5 separate regions of the Homo sapiens genome follow, and regions 1, 2, 3 and 5 are each linked to region 4. Evidence: promoter capture Hi-C in 16 types of primary human blood cells and fetal thymus (Javierre and others, 2016). All regions are on one chromosome and are shown on one strand. Each heading gives the region's core, a stretch centred on a gene start or on the middle of the fragment in contact. The rest is flanking DNA. Distances are from core to core; before and after follow the strand shown.

What was found. Contacts are between HindIII fragments. The CHiCAGO score rates a contact against its expected background, and 5 or more counts as called.
Region 1: a fragment that was not itself captured here is called in contact with the fragment with the promoter of ECT2 in region 4 in 1 of 17 cell types (total CD4 T cells); the score reaches 6.1 in total CD4 T cells.
Region 2: a contact is called between a fragment that was not itself captured here and the fragment with the promoter of ECT2 in region 4, in 2 of 17 cell types (fetal thymus and total CD8 T cells). The highest score is 7.9, in fetal thymus.
Region 3: a contact is called between a fragment that was not itself captured here and the fragment with the promoter of ECT2 in region 4, in 1 of 17 cell types (total CD4 T cells). The highest score is 6.6, in total CD4 T cells.
Region 5: a contact is called between a fragment that was not itself captured here and the fragment with the promoter of ECT2 in region 4, in 1 of 17 cell types (total CD4 T cells). The highest score is 5.2, in total CD4 T cells.

Annotation. Positions count from the first base shown.
Region 1 is chr3:170,893,074-170,896,636 of GRCh38, reverse strand. It overlaps EIF5A2 (eukaryotic translation initiation factor 5A2), which reads left to right. Exons shown (of 5, transcript NM_020390.6): 4 at 2,214-2,345; 5 at 3,218-3,563. The coding sequence ends at 3,277. Among named protein-coding and RNA genes, the nearest start is that of EIF5A2, 14 kb to the left of the region's middle. The HindIII fragment of the contact is 8,845 bases long and covers 1-3,563 here.
Region 2 is chr3:171,456,867-171,460,208 of GRCh38, reverse strand. TNIK (TRAF2 and NCK interacting kinase) reads left to right here. Exons shown (of 33, transcript NM_015028.4): 1 at 1-202. The coding sequence starts at 146. It overlaps LOC124906303 (a long non-coding RNA gene), which reads left to right and starts at 2,038. Exons shown (of 2, transcript XR_007096168.1): 1 at 2,038-2,263. It overlaps LOC102724479 (a long non-coding RNA gene), which reads right to left and starts at 991. Exons shown (of 3, transcript NR_189068.1): 1 at 818-991. RefSeq lists a silencer at 115-174. The HindIII fragment of the contact is 3,387 bases long and covers 105-3,342 here.
Region 3 is chr3:171,246,931-171,250,720 of GRCh38, reverse strand. All of the region lies in intron 2 of TNIK (TRAF2 and NCK interacting kinase), which reads left to right. Among named protein-coding and RNA genes, the nearest start is that of MIR569, 140 kb to the right of the region's middle. The HindIII fragment of the contact is 2,145 bases long and covers 507-2,651 here.
Region 4 is chr3:172,748,783-172,752,151 of GRCh38, reverse strand. ECT2 (epithelial cell transforming 2) reads right to left here and starts at 1,426. Exons shown (of 25, transcript NM_001258315.2): 1 at 1,295-1,426. RefSeq lists a silencer at 1,011-1,080 and enhancers at 1,191-1,450, 1,471-1,520, 1,621-1,890. The HindIII fragment of the contact is 5,304 bases long and covers 1-1,772 here.
Region 5 is chr3:170,855,209-170,858,521 of GRCh38, reverse strand. No RefSeq gene overlaps it. Among named protein-coding and RNA genes, the nearest start is that of RPL22L1, 13 kb to the left of the region's middle. The HindIII fragment of the contact is 1,328 bases long and covers 812-2,139 here.

The DNA of each region.
Region 1 (3,563 bases), core at 86-2,585, 1.9 Mb after region 4:
ACAGTTCCACATGGCTATGGAGGCCTCAGGAACCACGGCAGAAGGCGAAGGGGAAGCAAGGCACATCTTACATGGCAGCAGGAGATACAGCAAGTGAGGGGGGAACTGCTAAACACTTTGAAGAGAACTCACTCACTATCATGACAACAGCATTGCGGAGACTGACCCCATGATCCAATTGCGTCCCACCAGCTCCCTCCCTCGACATGTGGGGATTACAATTCAAGATGAGATTTGGGTGGGGACACAGAGCCAAACCATATCAAAGATTAAATAATTCATTCTCATTATTTTTGTTTTTCGTAGCTTAGTTTTATTTTTGAAAACTAATTGTATTTAATATAGCAATTTATCTTAATGTTTAATGTTTGTAAATGCATTGTTTTACTAGATGTTTTATATATTTGTACATCTGAAATGCTTTATATATTTCATTCCACAGTTTATGATTCTTAACTCTTAAAAAATAAAATAGCTCCATTACATACATCATTTTCAAAATATCAGTATTATTATTTGGCTTCTGTGTTTCAGTCACTAGTGGCACAGTACGAACATTTAACTCTTGAAATAGACAAGCTGTGCTTTAGGGAATTACTAAAAGAACAGAAATCAGAAAGATTTGTCTTGGAATGTTGTGGTTGTTTAAAAATTACACTTCAAGCTAGGTGCATTGGTGCACACCTATAGTCCCAGCTCCTTGGAAGGCTAAAGCAGAGGCTCACTTGACCCCAGGAGTTCGAGGCCAGCCTAGGCAATATAATGAGACGCCCATCTTTAAAAATATATATATTTTTTAAAAAGTTACACTTCTACCTCAACCTCCTTGCTCCCACTTCTCTACCAGCCACCTCACAAATATTTGAGGGTCTAAGAGGTTAGTTAAAAGTCTTTGTTGTAGCTCTGTAGGATTTCTTATTTTTGAGATTTCTAGACATATAAAAACTCAAATTTCCTGTGATAGATGGAGTTTCTGTGGAGAGCCATAGGCAGTTTTGGTAGATGGTGTATGTGGAGGAGAGCAATCCCAACGATATGCCTGGGTTATATCATAGTGGTTACAGGGGTTCAAGGACCATTGTCTTTGACTCCTTTTGTAGATATTAGTAGCTGGTATTCTGGATGGTAGCCTTTTATAAAACATGTTAGGATTCGAGGCATACTAATAGTGTACATGCTTTTATTAATAGAATAAATGAGTGGAGGTTGGTTGTTTACTCATTCCTGTAGTAAAAGAAGTTCAGTGGTATCAAAACCGTGCTTTTTTGCAGGTTGGGTTGACAACTGGGTTTTTTTTTTTCACTAATGTTATCCATACACTAGTGGATTTTGTTGTTGTTGTTGTTGTTGACTGAAGACCAAAAGTTTTCCACTTAATTTTGTTCATACTCAAATTAGAAAATGCATTGTTTGTAATAGCAAAAATAACTTTTATGCCCAGTAATGTGAAATTGGTTAAATCAGTAATAGTATGTCCATGCAGATATGTGGTAGTTAACTAAGGTAGGTTTACATTTTCTGCTTAGAAAGTATTTATAAGACATATTATTAAGTCAAAACAGCTCACTGTAAAGTACTTATAATATCTCTTTTTTTTTTTTTTTTTTTTTTGAGACAGAGTCTCGCTCTGTCGCCCAGGCTGGAGTGCAGGGGCACGATCTTGGCTCACCGCAAGCTCCACCTCCTGGGTTCACGCCATTCTCCTGCCTCAGCCTCCCAAGTAGATGGGACTACAGGTGTCTGCCACCACACCTGGCTAATTTTTTGTATTTTTAGTAGAGATGGGGTTTCACCGTGTTAGCCAGGATGGTCTCAATCTCCTGACCTCATGATCCGCCCGCCTCGGCCTCCCAAAGTGCTGGGATTACAGGCGTGAGCCACCGCACTTGGCCCAATATCCCATTTTGATTAAAAAAAAAAACAAAACAGCAACTATATTTATTTTGTGAACATAAATGGAATACACTATAAAGAAACCTAAACTGTTTAACAAGGCAGAGATTGGGTATGGGAAGTACCGGGAGGAGTAAACTTATATTTCCATTCTGTACATATTTTATATTTTTTATATTTTTAGCATTTTAAATACCAAGAATATTAATATATTACTGTATACTTATATGAATTAATATCAATTGCAATTTAACTATGTAAGCATTACACAGAAGTGGATATAATCTAATCAGCACAAATGATATAATTTCTTCTAATAGCTGATATGCATTCAAGATGGTTACCTTTCCCTGCTGACAGAAACTGGTGAAGTTCGTGAGGATCTTAAACTGCCAGAAGGTGAACTAGGCAAAGAAATAGAGGGAAAATACAATGCAGGTGAAGATGTACAGGTAAAGACTTAGAGAAGGATTATTTTTGAAAACCATTTTATAAAAACTTTGACCTCAACTAGTTAACATAAAATACTACATATGGAATGTGGTTTAAAAATACTGCTAAAATGTTGAAAATGATCTCTCAGGCAGGTTTTCCATAAAACCCTTAGAGACTCATTATCAAAGAAAGTATCAAAGTTCATTTTTGCTACATCAGCATTACTCTCAAACCCAAATTTGTTTTGAAGCTCTGCACCTGACTTTTTTTTTTTTTTTGAGACGGAGTCTCCCTCTGTCACCCAGGCTGGAGTGCAGTGGCGTGATCTCGGCTCATTGCAACCTCCGCGTCCCAGGTTCAAGCGATTCTCCCCTCAGCCTCCTGAGTAGCTGGGATTGCAGGCGCGTGCCACCACATCTGGCTAATTTTTGTATTTTTAGTAAAGATTGGGTTTCAGCATGTTGGCCAAGCTGGTTTTGAACTCCTGACCTCAGGTGATCCCCCAACCTTGGCCTCCCAAAAGTGCTGGGATTACAGGCCTGAGCAAGGCGCCCAGCCCTGAGCTATTCTTACAGGTAAGAAATGATGCTAGTGGAATGTTAAAGAGTGAAGGAGATTTACTGTCTTCGTTACAACTTTCAGAAATGTAACGGGTAGTAAGTGTTCAAACATTTATAGTTATTTTTCCTGTTCCCTGGAAGTTGTCTTACAAACCACTCTGAGAAATTCTGCTTTAGAAAACTGTAAAGAAAGTAGCTTGTTTTGGAATACCCCTTTCAGAAGTCCATATGTACAAAATATCCACAAATATACAATATATGAGGAACTAATTATATCTTCTATATGTATTGTCTTCTGAATAACGTTTTGCCTGCTTTTTTCCTTCTAGGTGTCTGTCATGTGTGCAATGAGTGAAGAATATGCTGTAGCCATAAAACCCTGCAAATAAACGGAAACATCAGGCATGAACACTGTTTATGTCTGAATCAACTGCAGATCTAATTTGGTTCTAAGTTGTCACCAAAGCTATAGCCTTCATAAGCAACCTCATTTCTTTTTTTAATTGTTTTCAGATTGTGCTGGGTTAGTTTTGCAAGCAATTGATAATTTTTAAAAAATTATCAATATGTATAATTTTTTTTGAATTTTGTAGATATGTTTCCTATAATATTCCTGTGGTTTTCAGTATGTCAGTCCAAGAAACAAACAAGATAGCTTCAGCAGATGTGATTTGT
Region 2 (3,342 bases), core at 549-3,048, 1.3 Mb after region 4:
GGGGCTGGGGTGGGCGGGGGAGGCTGGGCCCGGGGCCTCTGGCGCGACACCCGCATGAGGACGCGAGTGAAATAGACCAAGGTGGAATTTCCAAGGGAAAAGCTTCGGGGTGGTTTTGGTCCATTTCTCCAGCGAAGAAGTAGACATGGCGAGCGACTCCCCGGCTCGAAGCCTGGATGAAATAGATCTCTCGGCTCTGAGGGTGAGCAGGACGTTTTCTGGTTTCTTTCCAGTGGTTTGGGTTAGGGTGAATGGGCTCGGTGCGTGGACTGGGGGCTGGGGCTGGGGCAGGGGGACAGCAGCGGGAGAATGCGTCGGGGAGGGAACCTGGATTCCCGTTTTGATTCGGGGTTGCTGAGGTGCTCCTGGCTGAGCCCCTACGGCAGGGGCTGTGCGGTACGTGTCTTCCTCTGGCCGTGGCTTAGGCTCTCCCGAGGGCTCGTAGAGCTTATGCCAGTTTCATCTTATACCGGTGTAAGAGCATTAAAATGAAAGGCGTGTGTGCGTGTGTGTGTGTGTGTGTGTGTGTGTGTACACGCCCCGGGCAGTTGTCTGGTGCCAAGGCGCGAGACCCGACTGTCCCTTCTGCAAAAAGAATGCCAGCGTGAATAAAGGCACTGGCCCCTCACGTTTTCCAGCTACCTGCAAGATGACATTGTGAGGCTGGCTGTCCCCGCGAAGCCGAACCTGCCGCTCCAAGGGGGCAGTTATTGCTATGCTGGTCTTGTAGATGGCAACTGCCTCCCCCTCCCCCTTTTCTACCTCCCGCGCCCGGGCGCCCTCTCAGCGCTCCCTTAAATGCCAGTCTGCCACTCACCTTTATTTATGGCTTTAACTCAGCCCTGCCTGTTCTTTCTGACTTTGTGGCTGTAACGTTTCAGTTTTATGGCTGAACTTAAGCAGGTGAAAGGGATGTGTTTTCTGCTTTTCCTCAATCAGACCGGAACTCCCTGGAGTGTGTGCGAGTGTGTGTGTGTGTGTGTCTGTGTGTGTTTTCCCCGTGTCTGTGGCCAGTCCTTTGTAGAGCACCTCCCTCCCCCCAGCCCCACTGGTTTGCGTTTACCTTCACGTGAATTACCTCAGACGCCGTTTCATTGTATTGACTAAGACATCACTGATATAGAATCCATTTTGCTGTTGTTTTGAGATCAGAATACCAGGAATCCAAGTGCTGCTTCGACGCTTCCCCACCCCCAACTCCCGATCCCAACACACTCCTTTGGGGAAGGGGGCAGAGCTTTCTTGCCATTTTAATTAGATGCTGCCTGCCTGGAAGGGGGTGAGGGGTGGGGATGGTGGCAGCAGCGGGTGTCTGAGAAGGATTGGACACCAATTTAAGGACTGCTTCTTCCTCTCCCGAACCAAAAATAAAATTAAAAAGAAAGCGAGTGCATATACTTGATGTATGGAGGGTGGATGAGAAGGAATTCATGGTGGCTCTCTACAGGGAGACACCAGGATGGATGAAGCATGGAAGTTCACACGCCCTCCTGAGGAATACATTGTTAGATTGATGCTGAATCTTGGGGCCATTTACCTGGATTCCTAGTACTTCTGACATTGCCGCTATCTGCACTGATATATTAAAGTGCTACCTTTGTGATCAAAGTGGTACTTTCTCTTTGGTCTCCTTAATTAAACCTTTTCCTCCACATCTCTTTGAATAAGTCTTTCTCTCTTCGTCTTAATCTGTTGGGCTAAGAGATGAGGTTTCAGCAAGGCAAGTAAGGAGTTGAGAAGAAACAGAGATGCCGTTTGAAATGGGCTGTTCTGATAGTTGGGCAGCCAAAGCTCATTCATGCATTATTACAGGAAGCTGTCTATTTCCCTGGAGTGGAAATGCCACATCAAGAACCGGCTGCCCCCTGCGCAGCGGGGTGGGGTTGGTAACAGGGTGGGTGCATTGGCCAGGTCTGTGGCTTCCTGCTTTACCGACTGTGTGTGTTCATTTGCCCTACTTTCTACGCTGGGAGTTGCTGCCGGCGAGTTAATCAGGTGGATGGATGGCCCCGACTGGGGGTGGGGTGCTGCGAATCGGTCGGAGGTCGGGGTGGGGGGCGGGAAGTGGCAAAGGGGGAAGGGGTCTGAACAATGCGCAGGGCTTGCGGTGATTTCCCTGGGCCGGAATCTCGACCTTGCTCCTCTACTGGAAAGCAGTCTGATGTGATTTTAAGTTGGGCCGGGACTTGTCCCTTATGGGCTTTTTCCTCGGGAAGGTTTTCTGAGATACCAAGCACGGAGCCTGCAGGCAGGGGAGCAACCGGTGAGGGCCCACTGGGCGGACGACTGCGGTTCACACTTGGGATGTGCTTTCTTGTGATCTGTATTTTGAAAATATATCTTTGCACAATTCACTGAAATTGCTCTTTGTGGCCTGGGCTATCAGCTTAGGGCTCTGCTTCTGTTTTTCTGCCTGCTGGGAGGTGTGGAAACAGAGAGGGCAACAGCTAGCTTGGGGACCAGGAACTGCTGGCTAGAAGACTTAGATGCAGATGTGGAGACAGTTATATCCTGGAGGGCCAGGGTCTTTGACCAGTCTTGTGGGTGAGGTGTGTCTGCTGGAGTGGGTCCAAAGGCCACATAGGTAATCTCCACAAATCAGAGGGCAGATCATCTCCACCTTGCCACATTTGGAGAGGTGGCCTCATCTAGATGAGATGTCTCATTTGTTCCTAAGCCCTTGGTAAAGTCTGCCTGCTGAGCCCCTCCTGGGGAATGCCTGACCCCTGAAATGCAGCCAAGGTCAGTGGCTTCTGGGAGAATTTGCTGCAGACTTACCAGTCCCTCGCTGTTTCGGTGGCTCTTTAATGTACACAGTCAATGCTCTTTTTGTAAACCCTGGGCTCAAAGCATTAAAAGCAGATCCTGTCTAGAGAGGCCTTTATCCTTCTCACTTTGGGGGCTTATTGTTCTCAGCCAGTGATTCCAGACCGGACCCAGTCTAAATTTTCCCCAAATAGCAACAATGCATAATTTAAACCAGAGCAACCAATGACAGCACTGATCATTTAAATTATGCAAGATTTGCATGGTTTAAAAGTGAGTGAAGCAGGATCTTCTTTGGTTAGAAAATAGGTACTTTGAATCCAGTTTTAGCCCTGATTTTTAGAGCTCAGAGATAAACTAAATCTTGAGGGATGGGCTGGAATTGTTTTATAGATTCAGAGCTGGAAAGAGAATTGTAGAACACTCAGCCACTCCTTTCATTGAACACTTGGGAAACTGAAGCCCAGAGGCGTGAAGTAAGTTGTTCAAGGTCACACAGTAACAAGGGGAGGGGACAGCGAGGAGCGTGGTTTGAGGAAATAATCTAGATTTCCTGACTCCTCATTCAGTGCTCTT
Region 3 (3,790 bases), core at 330-2,829, 1.5 Mb after region 4:
TTAGTGTGGAAACTGAGATCTAAAGAGATCTGAATGATTTCCTCATGGTCACACAGCCAGTGAGTGACAGAACTGAAGGTATCTGACCACAGGGCCTGTGTTGTTCCCACCTCCCACAGCTGAAGGAGTTGGAGTTCCTACTTTTCTCTGAGCTAGCTGCATGGCTTTAGAGAAGTAGGATGGAAGGGGTTAATATCAGTGGACATGAATGTCTCTAATATTCTTCATTTCTAATTTTTTAAGTCTATCAGGTTTGGACACGAAATTTTTAAAGGGCATGATTTAGATTTCTAGGAATCCCTGTTTCTGAATATTTTGGGGGACTAGGGCTTAGGTTACATCTTGGAATTTTTAAGGTACTGGAGCTATTTAACCCAAATCTCACTACCACAAAGAAGCTGTCCATCCATCAACACCATTTTCCCAGGCAAACAAGACTGGGTCAGTCTCTCCAAGGCCTGTCCCATGAAAATTAGAGGGTGCTGGCATTACCAGAAAGCAAAGCTTCCATCCAGGTATGGATGAGCTACTTCTGAGAAGGGAGTAATCAGTATGGACTGAAGTAAATGGGAATTCTTCCTGAACATGTGCCATCAAGCTATAGAGCAGAAGTTGGGTGAAATTTGAAAGGCGGAGTAACAAAGGCAGAAGCATGCAGGCATCGCTAAGAGCTTGGCCTTACCAGCTGGCTGACTTTGGGACTGTGCTTTGCTCTCTTCATTAGTATAATGGGGGTGGTAGTAGCACCTACTTCACATGGGCAATGTGGGGATTAAATAGTAATCATGTAAAACCTTAGCCTGACAAGTTGATATACAGTAAAAGCAAACTATTAGTTACTAGCTCAGTAAGAAACCAGGATAGCTAGGAACAGTTAGGGAGTCTAGGTAGGTTGGGTTGGGTGGGTTGGATTGGTTCCAACTGACAGGGAAAGACGCTACTTGCCTCAAGAGTGGATGAAATAAATAGCTATGGAATAACTGTATATGCTTTCCTGCAGGCTCCTCACTTAATATATATCGTACAAGACAGTAATAGCTAATATCATAGGCAGCAAATTTGACATTTGTTCATTTGTCTTTTTGTAATGAATTATTTGAGGTGAATTATGCTGATGTGTACCACCATCATTCCATTTGAATATGTGTCTTAATGTATAATGTCCTAAGGGCTGCCCAGGACTGGTGAGCAGTAACTCACTGCAGGAGGCCCCTAATTTGCCATTTCCACACCACTGCCCCATCCCTCCAGCCCCCTTAAGTTGGCAGCAGGCCACTCTGTCTTGTCTAGTAATGGTGATGGAGAGCCTGAGTGATTCTTAATCAAAGAAAATGACAACTCCATTTACATTTGTACAGATCTGATATTCACATTTGGATGTATGCCTAAAGGTACCTGGGTTGAAAATATGTGGTGTAACATTGCTTTATCTTCCTAAATCATCCTGACACAGCCTTGGACTTAATAGGGAGTGGGACCCAGAATTATGAAATAATAGCAGACATGCCACTGGAGGCTGAAATTTATGTTTTATGAGATAAAGTGGTTCTTAACTATTTTTGTTGCCATGTTCAATAGCTAGTTACTTTTAATGTTTCTATAATAAGAAAACAGTATGCAAAGATACACTTTAACAGAATTTCATAAGCTCCTACACTATGGGTAATAACCAGAGTTCTGAAAATAAAACCGTTACTTTCACTTGCATTTTAAGTCAGATTGATAGCTTTCTTTCATTTATAACGTCGTCCTAGTCTGAAAGCAAAATCACCATTTTATTATTTCTTATTCAAAGGCTGAAAGAAAAAGGTACCAAGTAAAATGATTTTGTATGACAAGGTCAATAAGACTTGGCAGCAAAGACTTGGATTGAAACTTTAGCCTTGCCATTAACCAGCTGTGATGTTGAATAAGTCATCTAGTCCTTGTCTCACTTGTAAAATGGTATAATATTGATACTATAGTTATATTGCTATTACCTGGAATGACACCCCACTCTTATTATTCACAACCTGGACTTTTTATGACCCAGGTCTGTTTTGCTTTTAAAATCTTAAATGTACAGCATCCCAATCTTAGACCACAGCCTTTGATGCTTCCAGCCTGTACTCCCTCACACCCTACACACCTGTTCTTTGATGTTGACTAAGCCCTCGGGTCTTTTGTCAGTCTCTCAGTCCCCATGAAACTTTAATAACTTGTCTCTCCAGCCTTGGGCCTCATGATTTCTTAGTTTAATCATTTTTAGCCAACATGTACTATCTCCTTTATCCTTTGTTCTTCCATAATATCCACCTTGCAGACCCCTTCCCTAAGGTCAGTCTAGCTGTTTATTTTTCTGCATTTGGGCTGCACAGCTCAACTCAGCACTGCTTAATAATCAACTGTGTATGTACCTGCTCAGTTCCTTCTCCTGTTTTCCCTGGAATAGTTGCTCCCAATCTCCACCACTCTCCTCTCCTCCCTTCCGCTGCCCCTGCCTTCATTGTTCTCCACAGGTGACCTTCTTCTATGCCTTTTAGAAAAACTGGAGCCATTGGACAGGTATCCCTTATTGGGTAAATATCCCACAGGTCTCCCTCTGCCTTTCTTCTCAAACTCATCTTCTTCCCACATTCTTACCTTCTTTCATCCTAACTCAATGTAAAGCTTTTCCCTCTGTGTGAGAGGACTCCTCCTGCTGTTTCTGTTGTCTCCTCCCTTGCCCAGAATTGCCCCTTTCCTCCCAGCCTGCAGTCATCTTCAGCGAGACCTCAGGACTAGTTTCATCTCTTTTCAGACCAAGCAACTTTTTTCTACCCTCTTTGCCTCCACATAGTCACCTCCCATTTTTTCCTTCACTCTATACAAACTGATGTCTGTCCCTGCATTGCTGTGTAAGGTCCCAGGGGCTTCATAATTGCCAGATTGAATGAGCTCTTTTTAGTCTTTATTTCACTTGGTCTTCTGTAGCACTGGCTCTGACCATACCCTCCTTTTTGAAACTCATCACATCCTCCTTCCTGAAACTTTCTCTTTCCTTGATTTGCAGTCATATTGCTGCTTTCTTTTTTCCCACCCGCTGGTTGTTTTTTCTTGGGGTTCATTGCAAGTCCTTCTGTCTCTGTAGACTGACTTGACCTCCTGAAGCCCAGTCTTCTCCACTGGACTAATGGACACATCTGTCTGGATGTCTACCCGGCCCCCGAAAACCTTGTTATGTCCTTGACTGAAGTCACTTCCTGCCTTCTTCATGTTTTCCCGAGTCTTCTGTCTCAAAGAATGGCACTCTTACCCACCTAGATTGTACAAGCCAGAGATGTTATCTTCCTGGAGGACTTCTGTTTCTCTTTCAATTCTCCAAAACACCATCTACATGTCCTGTTGATTCTACTTATTTATTCTTTGGATCTATTCTCTTTTCACTGCCAGCCTTTGTTTCAGATCCTGACTGGATTAATCATCTCCAAATCTTGGTAGAGGACAGATGAACTGCAATCCTGGATCTGAGTGGTAGCGGGTAGGAAGGTGGGCAAGGAGTGGGGAAGATGGTGACAGGGTGACCTTTCTGGAATCCAGTCTGATCTTGTAACTCCCAAGTGTAAACTCTTTAACATCGTACTCCTTACGTGACACAGGAAGCTGTTCTTCATTGGGACTTTGTCTTCTCCAATTGCATATCCTGCTATTTTCTACACACATGTGATGTCATAGCCATACACAGACTTAAGCCCTTCCTCATACATTGGCCAGTGCCTTTACTTGTTGCTTGAAATGTCCTTCCTTGTCTTCCCCCCAGTCTTATTCTTCT
Region 4 (3,369 bases), core at 177-2,676:
GTCTAAAAAAAAAAAAAAAACTTCTTGAAAATATTTACATTTTTCTCCTATGCCTCCCTCTTTAAGAGGGAGCACAGCAAATGATCAAAAGCAGATGATTAATAAAAGGGAGGGAGCATAGCAGATGATCGAAAGCAGATGATTAATAATTAAAATTGCCCCTGATGATACTGTATATGATCAATTTATTGCCAAAACAGCTTCAAAATGTATAGAGAAAAAGAGATGCACTACGGTAACTTGATGACATAACTAACATCCAACAGTCAGATTAGAAATGGAAATATATTAATCACTTTTTTTCAAATTACTGTATTCCAGAAGCCTTTAAAATAAGCACAATAGGATCAGTGTTCATAAACCTACACAGCTTCTCACCCAAGAACAGACCCAAGGAGCTTCTAACTAAACACACTATAACACATGCCCCCTTTTATCCCAGAGATAAAATTTGCCATGTAAACAAACATTCAAGTTTCCTTTTACTTAAATACTTTTTAGGCAATCATCTTCCAAGGTGAAGGACTAAAATGCAATCCAAGATATAATGGTGGTGTTATTAACAATAACATTACTATTAACAACTGACATTTACTTAACGCTTAATACGTGGCAGACATTGTCCTAAACCTTTTAATCTCTGCAGTAATCCTAAGAGGCAGGTACTATTATTATTTTCAATGTATGGATGAAGAAACGTAGGAACAGAGAGGTTAAGCAACTTCCCCTAAGTCAAACTGTTAGTAAGGGGTAAAAGAGGTATTCAAAGCCCGGCTAAATCCAGAGGCTGCGCCTTTAACCACTAAGCCGGACACATCTGTGCCGGGTGGCTGGGGAGGACGAGGGGCGGATGGCCTGGATTTATCTTGCAAAAACGAAAAATTAAACTTCCCGCAAAGAAGCCAGGATGAATCCTAGAATAAAACCACGGCGCACTCTGAGATAAGCCCCCAAAGGCTGCAAGTGCCGGCCCCCAAAGCCACAGGGCTGCGCGGCTTGCCAAAATCCCTTTCCCAACTCCCTCCCTTCACCCACACTCTTCTGTCCAAAAGAGCCAACAGGTGAGGGCGAAGATGCCCAGCAATACTGGGGGCTTCGGTCTCCCACTCCGCGTCAGGGCCCGGCTGCTGGGGGTGGGGTGCGGCGAGGGAGTTCCCGGATCCGGGAAGCCTGAGCTGGGGCGCTCCGGAATTCGCGGTCACTAGGGGCGGGGACGTCGACCGCAGGCAAAAGAGCCCTTGGCTCTGGAGCCGCTCGCCCACTTGCACCTCTCTCACTCACACAGAGTCCTTACCACTCTCAAAAAAGCCCTAGGAGTTCCACCTCTTCAAACGCCGACTCCTCTCACAAATACCGCCATTCCTCGCCGGCGGCCGCCACAACCGATTCAAAAACTAAGCTGCTCTCTCTAAGAGCCATGCCGATTGGCGCGTGATGTCAACCTCTTTCCCATAGGCAGGAGTCTCCAGAGGGGCGGTGATTGGTCGACGCTCTCCAAGTCCCGGCAGGCGCCGCTTGATTGGTTGTGCGTGTGTTTCAAATAAGCCCAACGACTCGGGCGTCGGGACGCCAGGAGTTTGCAGAGAAGTGCCCGGATGTGGCCAGGAGGTGGCGGTGGTGGCTCCTGAGGTCTTAAAGGAGTAGCAGGTGTTTCTGTGACTACCGCATATTTACTCAGTAAACATCCTACTTCCTGAGGAAAGTTTGGGTGGATTCTCCTCGGCCCCACCCAGCTTTTTTTTTTTTTTAAACGATACCAAATCTTTTAAGCTTAAATCAGTGCCGCCAGAGATAAATGTTTCCCTGCTGCTTGCTGTGAGCTGTAGGATTTTCCTATCGGGATGCTTTCTGCTTTAGGAATGTATTTAAATTTGAGTTAAGGGATTTTGACTTTGATGGTTGTATTGGCGTGTGGCAGGGCCAAGGACCGGTCCTAGAACTCGGACTCCCCAGGTGGACTTCAAATCAGCAGCCGCTTATTTAAATGCTATTATTTAAAGCACTGCGCTCCCATCTAGGGAGTATCGCGGGTTAGAATCAATTCTTAGAAATTAGAAAAATTCTCGGATTTTTTTAAAGATAAGCTTGAATTTGATAAAAATATGCCACGAGATTCTAGAATTTTTGGAGCCAAATTGCTTCGTCTTTGCCCCCCTCCGCCCACTAAGAACTTGTACTTTCCCCTAAAGTCTAGTCAAGAATGTATCAAGTTTTTCCTGTGATTAGCGTTGCTATTATGAAAATAATTTCTTTATTTTCTAAATATGATACCATATAACACAATCTCTTAAGAAAAATACACCCCCACCAGGTGGGTTTTCCATAGTTCCCACCTGAAGGCTAATATAAATAGAAGAAGAAAGGGGAATCAGATGCCAGAACCTAAATACCAATAAGAAGAGGCAAACGTGTACTTTGGGATGGAACACTTGTGAGCATCTCAAGCAGGTTGTGGGGACTTAACAATTTTTTCTAATTTTGTCAGGCAATCTTAGAATGCCTGAAAAGTTTATAATGCTGTCCACAAAATGAATGAAGCAATCTGGTAATTATTGGTTTCCCTGCTTGTCAGTATTTAAGTCTGACCTTCATTAAAATGCTGTGATAACTGTTACGGCAGAAAAAAAGAAAAACAGTAATTGAAATTTCCATTTGGAATGTGCTTGCGTATTTGGAAGTCGGGTGTGCCCAGCATTCCAAAAACGTTCATCACTGAAAACATATTAAGCTATTGTGGGAAGCAGCCCTACTTCCTTTGTGCACCGCTTTCTGCTCAACAGACTTTCCAAAGCTAATGATTAACTGTGTATGGTATCATTGCCATGAATTTTAAGCTTCCCTAACAAAAGCTGTACTTGATTTCTTTTAAGGGATGTGTGGCAGTTAGATTAACAAATAAACGGGTAATACAACCTTTTTCACTCTCTTAGGTCTTCATTTACTCAGCAAATATTTACTAATTTTAAGACAGCCATTGTGCTTGTTGGGGTTATAAAGATGAATAAGGCATAGAAAACTGCCTGTCTGGACCACACAATCTGGTGAGGGAAATTAGCAGATAAACAGATAATTACAGTATAAGGGAGAGAAGAAAGAGAATGAACATACTGATACTTTACTATGCACTTTATACCTTATTTAATCCTTAAAACAACCCACAAGTAGGTATCATAGTCCCATGATACCATGAAACTGTAGGAAAGGTTTAAGTAACTTACCCAGTGTCTCCTAATAAATATTTTAGCCCGCATTAGAACCCAGAAATAATAGATGAGTGTAAATAAAGTCTAGTATAGATCTGTCTGCAGGCTCAAAGAAAGCAATGTGGAGAGGAGTATTTCAGATAATCGTGTGCATAGGTGATCATAT
Region 5 (3,313 bases), core at 226-2,725, 1.9 Mb after region 4:
TTTCCTGCCTCAGATCTGGAGTCATCCGTTTTTTTGTTGTTGTTGTTTGCTTGTTTTTTTGAGACAGAGTCTTGCTCTATCACCCAGGCTAAGTGCAGTGGCGCGATCTTGGCTCACTGCAACCTCCGCCTCCCAGGTTCAAGTGATTCTCCTGCCTCAGCCTCCTGAGTATCTGGGACTACAGGCATGTGCCACCATGCCTGGCTAACTTTTGTATTTTTAGTAGAGACGTGGTTTCGCCATGTTGGCCAGGCTGGGCTTGAACTCCTGACTTCAAGTGATCCTCCTACCTTGGCCTCCCAAAGTGCTGGGATTACAGGGGTCAGCCAGTGTGCCTGGCCAGGAGTCATCCATTTCTACAAGGAGCTCTGGACTATTTTCTAGGTGCTGGAGATGCTTGTCATTACTGGGGTGGTGTTTGTTTCTAGGCCTTTTGAGTGGACAGAGTGAAGGAATACATTTTTGTTCTTAAGAGGAAATGATATGTTTATTCTGATGCTTCCAATTCAAAATCAGGATAAAAGAGTTTTTATTTCATCAATTGTATGACCATATCTCTTTTTTCCCATGCTGAAAGTTCCAGTTCTCAATGACACCAACACAAATGCTCATTTGCTTTATCTCACAATATACACATAATAGTTTCAATAAAATAATACCAACAAAACTACCTATAATATAATGACTTTACAGCTTAAGATTGTTTTGCAGTTCTTTTTGTCCTTATGGTATATCCCACTAGAAATGAACAAAGTTTCGTGTTTTAAAGTCACTAGAAATGATTCATCTCTGTGTGGGCGTAGAACAAGCTTGATACACAGAGTCATTTGTTTCATTTTGCTTTTGATTAAAAAGTTTGCTTAAGCCCACTTTGTTTTTTATAATTCTGTAAAATATTTACAGGATTCTAAAGTCCAATCTACAAAACAAAGTATATTTAGAAAAGTCTAGTTTCTCTGTCTTTTTTTTTTTTTTGAGACAGAGTCTCGCTCTGTTACCCAGGCTGGAGTGCAGTGGTACAATCTCAGTTCACTGCAACCTCTGCCTCCTGGGTTCAAGCAATTCTCCTGCCTCAGCCTCCTGGGTAGCTGGGACTACCAGCTCCTGCCACCACACCCGGCTAATTTTTGTATTTTTAGTAGAGAAGGGGTTTCACTATATTGGCCAGGCTGGCCTCGAACTCCTGAACCTGTGATCCACCCGCCTTGGCCTCCCAAAGTGCTGGGATTACAGGTATGAGCCACCGTGCCCAGCCCCTAGAGAGGAGTTGTAAACCTGAGACTTACAGGTCAAAAGATAAATGAATGTGTAATTTCTAGATATTGCTGAATTTCCCTTTACAGGGGTTGTAGCATTTTGCTCTCCCACTAGCCTTCCCACCAGCAATCTGTGAAATCTGTTTTCCTGTAGACACACCAAGAGATAACCTTGTCCAATTTGAGGCTTAACTGACAGGTGAGACCTGGTTTTCAGGGTAATTTTCCTTTGCATTGTATTTGTGAGTGAGGTTGAATGTCAATAAGGGTCATTTGCATATCTTTCTCTGTGAGCTGCCTGTTTATATCTCTAATATATATCTGTGGAATTCTTGTTTTTATTTTTAATTTTTTACTTTTAGAAGCTCCCTCTATGTTAAGGCTATTAACTCCTTGTGTGTGATGTAAATTACAATTTCTTTTTTCAGCTTCTCATTTGTCTTTTTCCCCTACTTATGGTATTTTTGTTTTTTAACTTTTTTTTGAGACAAGCCCTTGCTCTGTTGCCTAGGCTGGATCATGGCTCACTGCGTCCTTGACTTCGTAGATTCAAGCCATCCTCCCACCTCAGTCTCCTGAGTAGCTGAGACTACAGGCACACACCACTACCTGGCTCATTTTTTAAAAAATTTGGGTAGAGATGGGGTCTTGCTATATTGCTCAGGCTGGTCTTGAATTCCTGAGTTCAAACAATCCTCCTGCCTGAGCCTCCCAAAGTGCTATTATTGCAGGTGTGAGCCACCATACCCAGCTGCTATTTTTCTTTTGTTTTATTACTAGTTTTCATTTTGTTTTGTTGTAGTTGTTGCTATAGAAGCATTATTTTTATTTTTATGTAATTAAATCAATTAACTTTTTTCTTATTGCCATGGTTAGAAAAGCTTTCCCCGTTATCAAGAATTCATTTATGTTTTCTGCTAGTACTTACATATTTTCATCTTAAAAAAATGTAGGTCTCTATTCTATTTGGAATTTATCCTGGTTTACAATTTGAGAAGTGGATCCAATTATACCTTTTTCCCATGTGACTACCCACCTATACCATTACCCCTGATGAAAAAGTTCCCAGGAAGTTTTGCTTAGCATAGGTTTTCCTACTTACTGTCTGGAAACCCTTGTATGTGGTCATGCTGAAGGGACTGGAGTCTAGATATATAGCTTCAGTGTGTGCTCTTTTACAAGCTGGATGATTAAAATGCCAGGAAGGCCAGTTTTAAACAATGTGTTGCATTTACAAATGGCTTTCTCTTTTCTTTTGATCCCTTAACAGCCCTCTGTGGCACAATATTATCTTCCCATTTTTCAGATGAAAAAACCAGGTCTCAGGTTTACTGGCTTGCCCATGGTCACACCATGGCACCCACCTCTCACTCCTCACCCAGTGCTCCTCCCACACACGGGGCCATGTCACACATCCTGCCTCTCTGTTGCCTACTAGCTTTGTGACCTTGGACACATCTCTTCACCCTCTGGGCCTCAGTTTCCCCTTCTGTATATAAAGAAGTGGTTAAAAATAGGTCAGCATTTCTCGGGCTTTAGTAACACCTGCTTCCTTTTGATAAACACAGATATTTCTCATGTTCCTTGTTCCCAGTTCCAATTGCCACCCTGTGATATAACTGATGCATAAATATCCCCACCAACCAAGGTATTTTGGGGCTTTCTATTCTGAAACAAAACAAAGTAAGATTTTTGGGATAATTTTCCCACTATAAACTCATAATATTGGATATACCTTTTTTTTTTTTTTTTTTTTTTTTTTTTTGAGACGGAGTCTTGCTGTGTCGCCAGGCTGGGGTGCAGTGGCGCAATCTCGGCTCACTGCAACTTCCGCCTCCCAGGTTCAAGCGATTCTCCTGCCTCAGCCTCCTGAGTAGCTGGGATTACAGGCCCACACCACCACACCTGGCTAATTTTTTGTATTTTAGTAGAGATAGGGTTTCACCAGGTTGGCCAGGATGGTCTCGGTCTCCTGACCTCATGATACACACAAGCTTCTTGAGAGTAACATACTTCCCCCATGATAAGGCTTTTTTTTTCTGTCCTAAAATCCTATG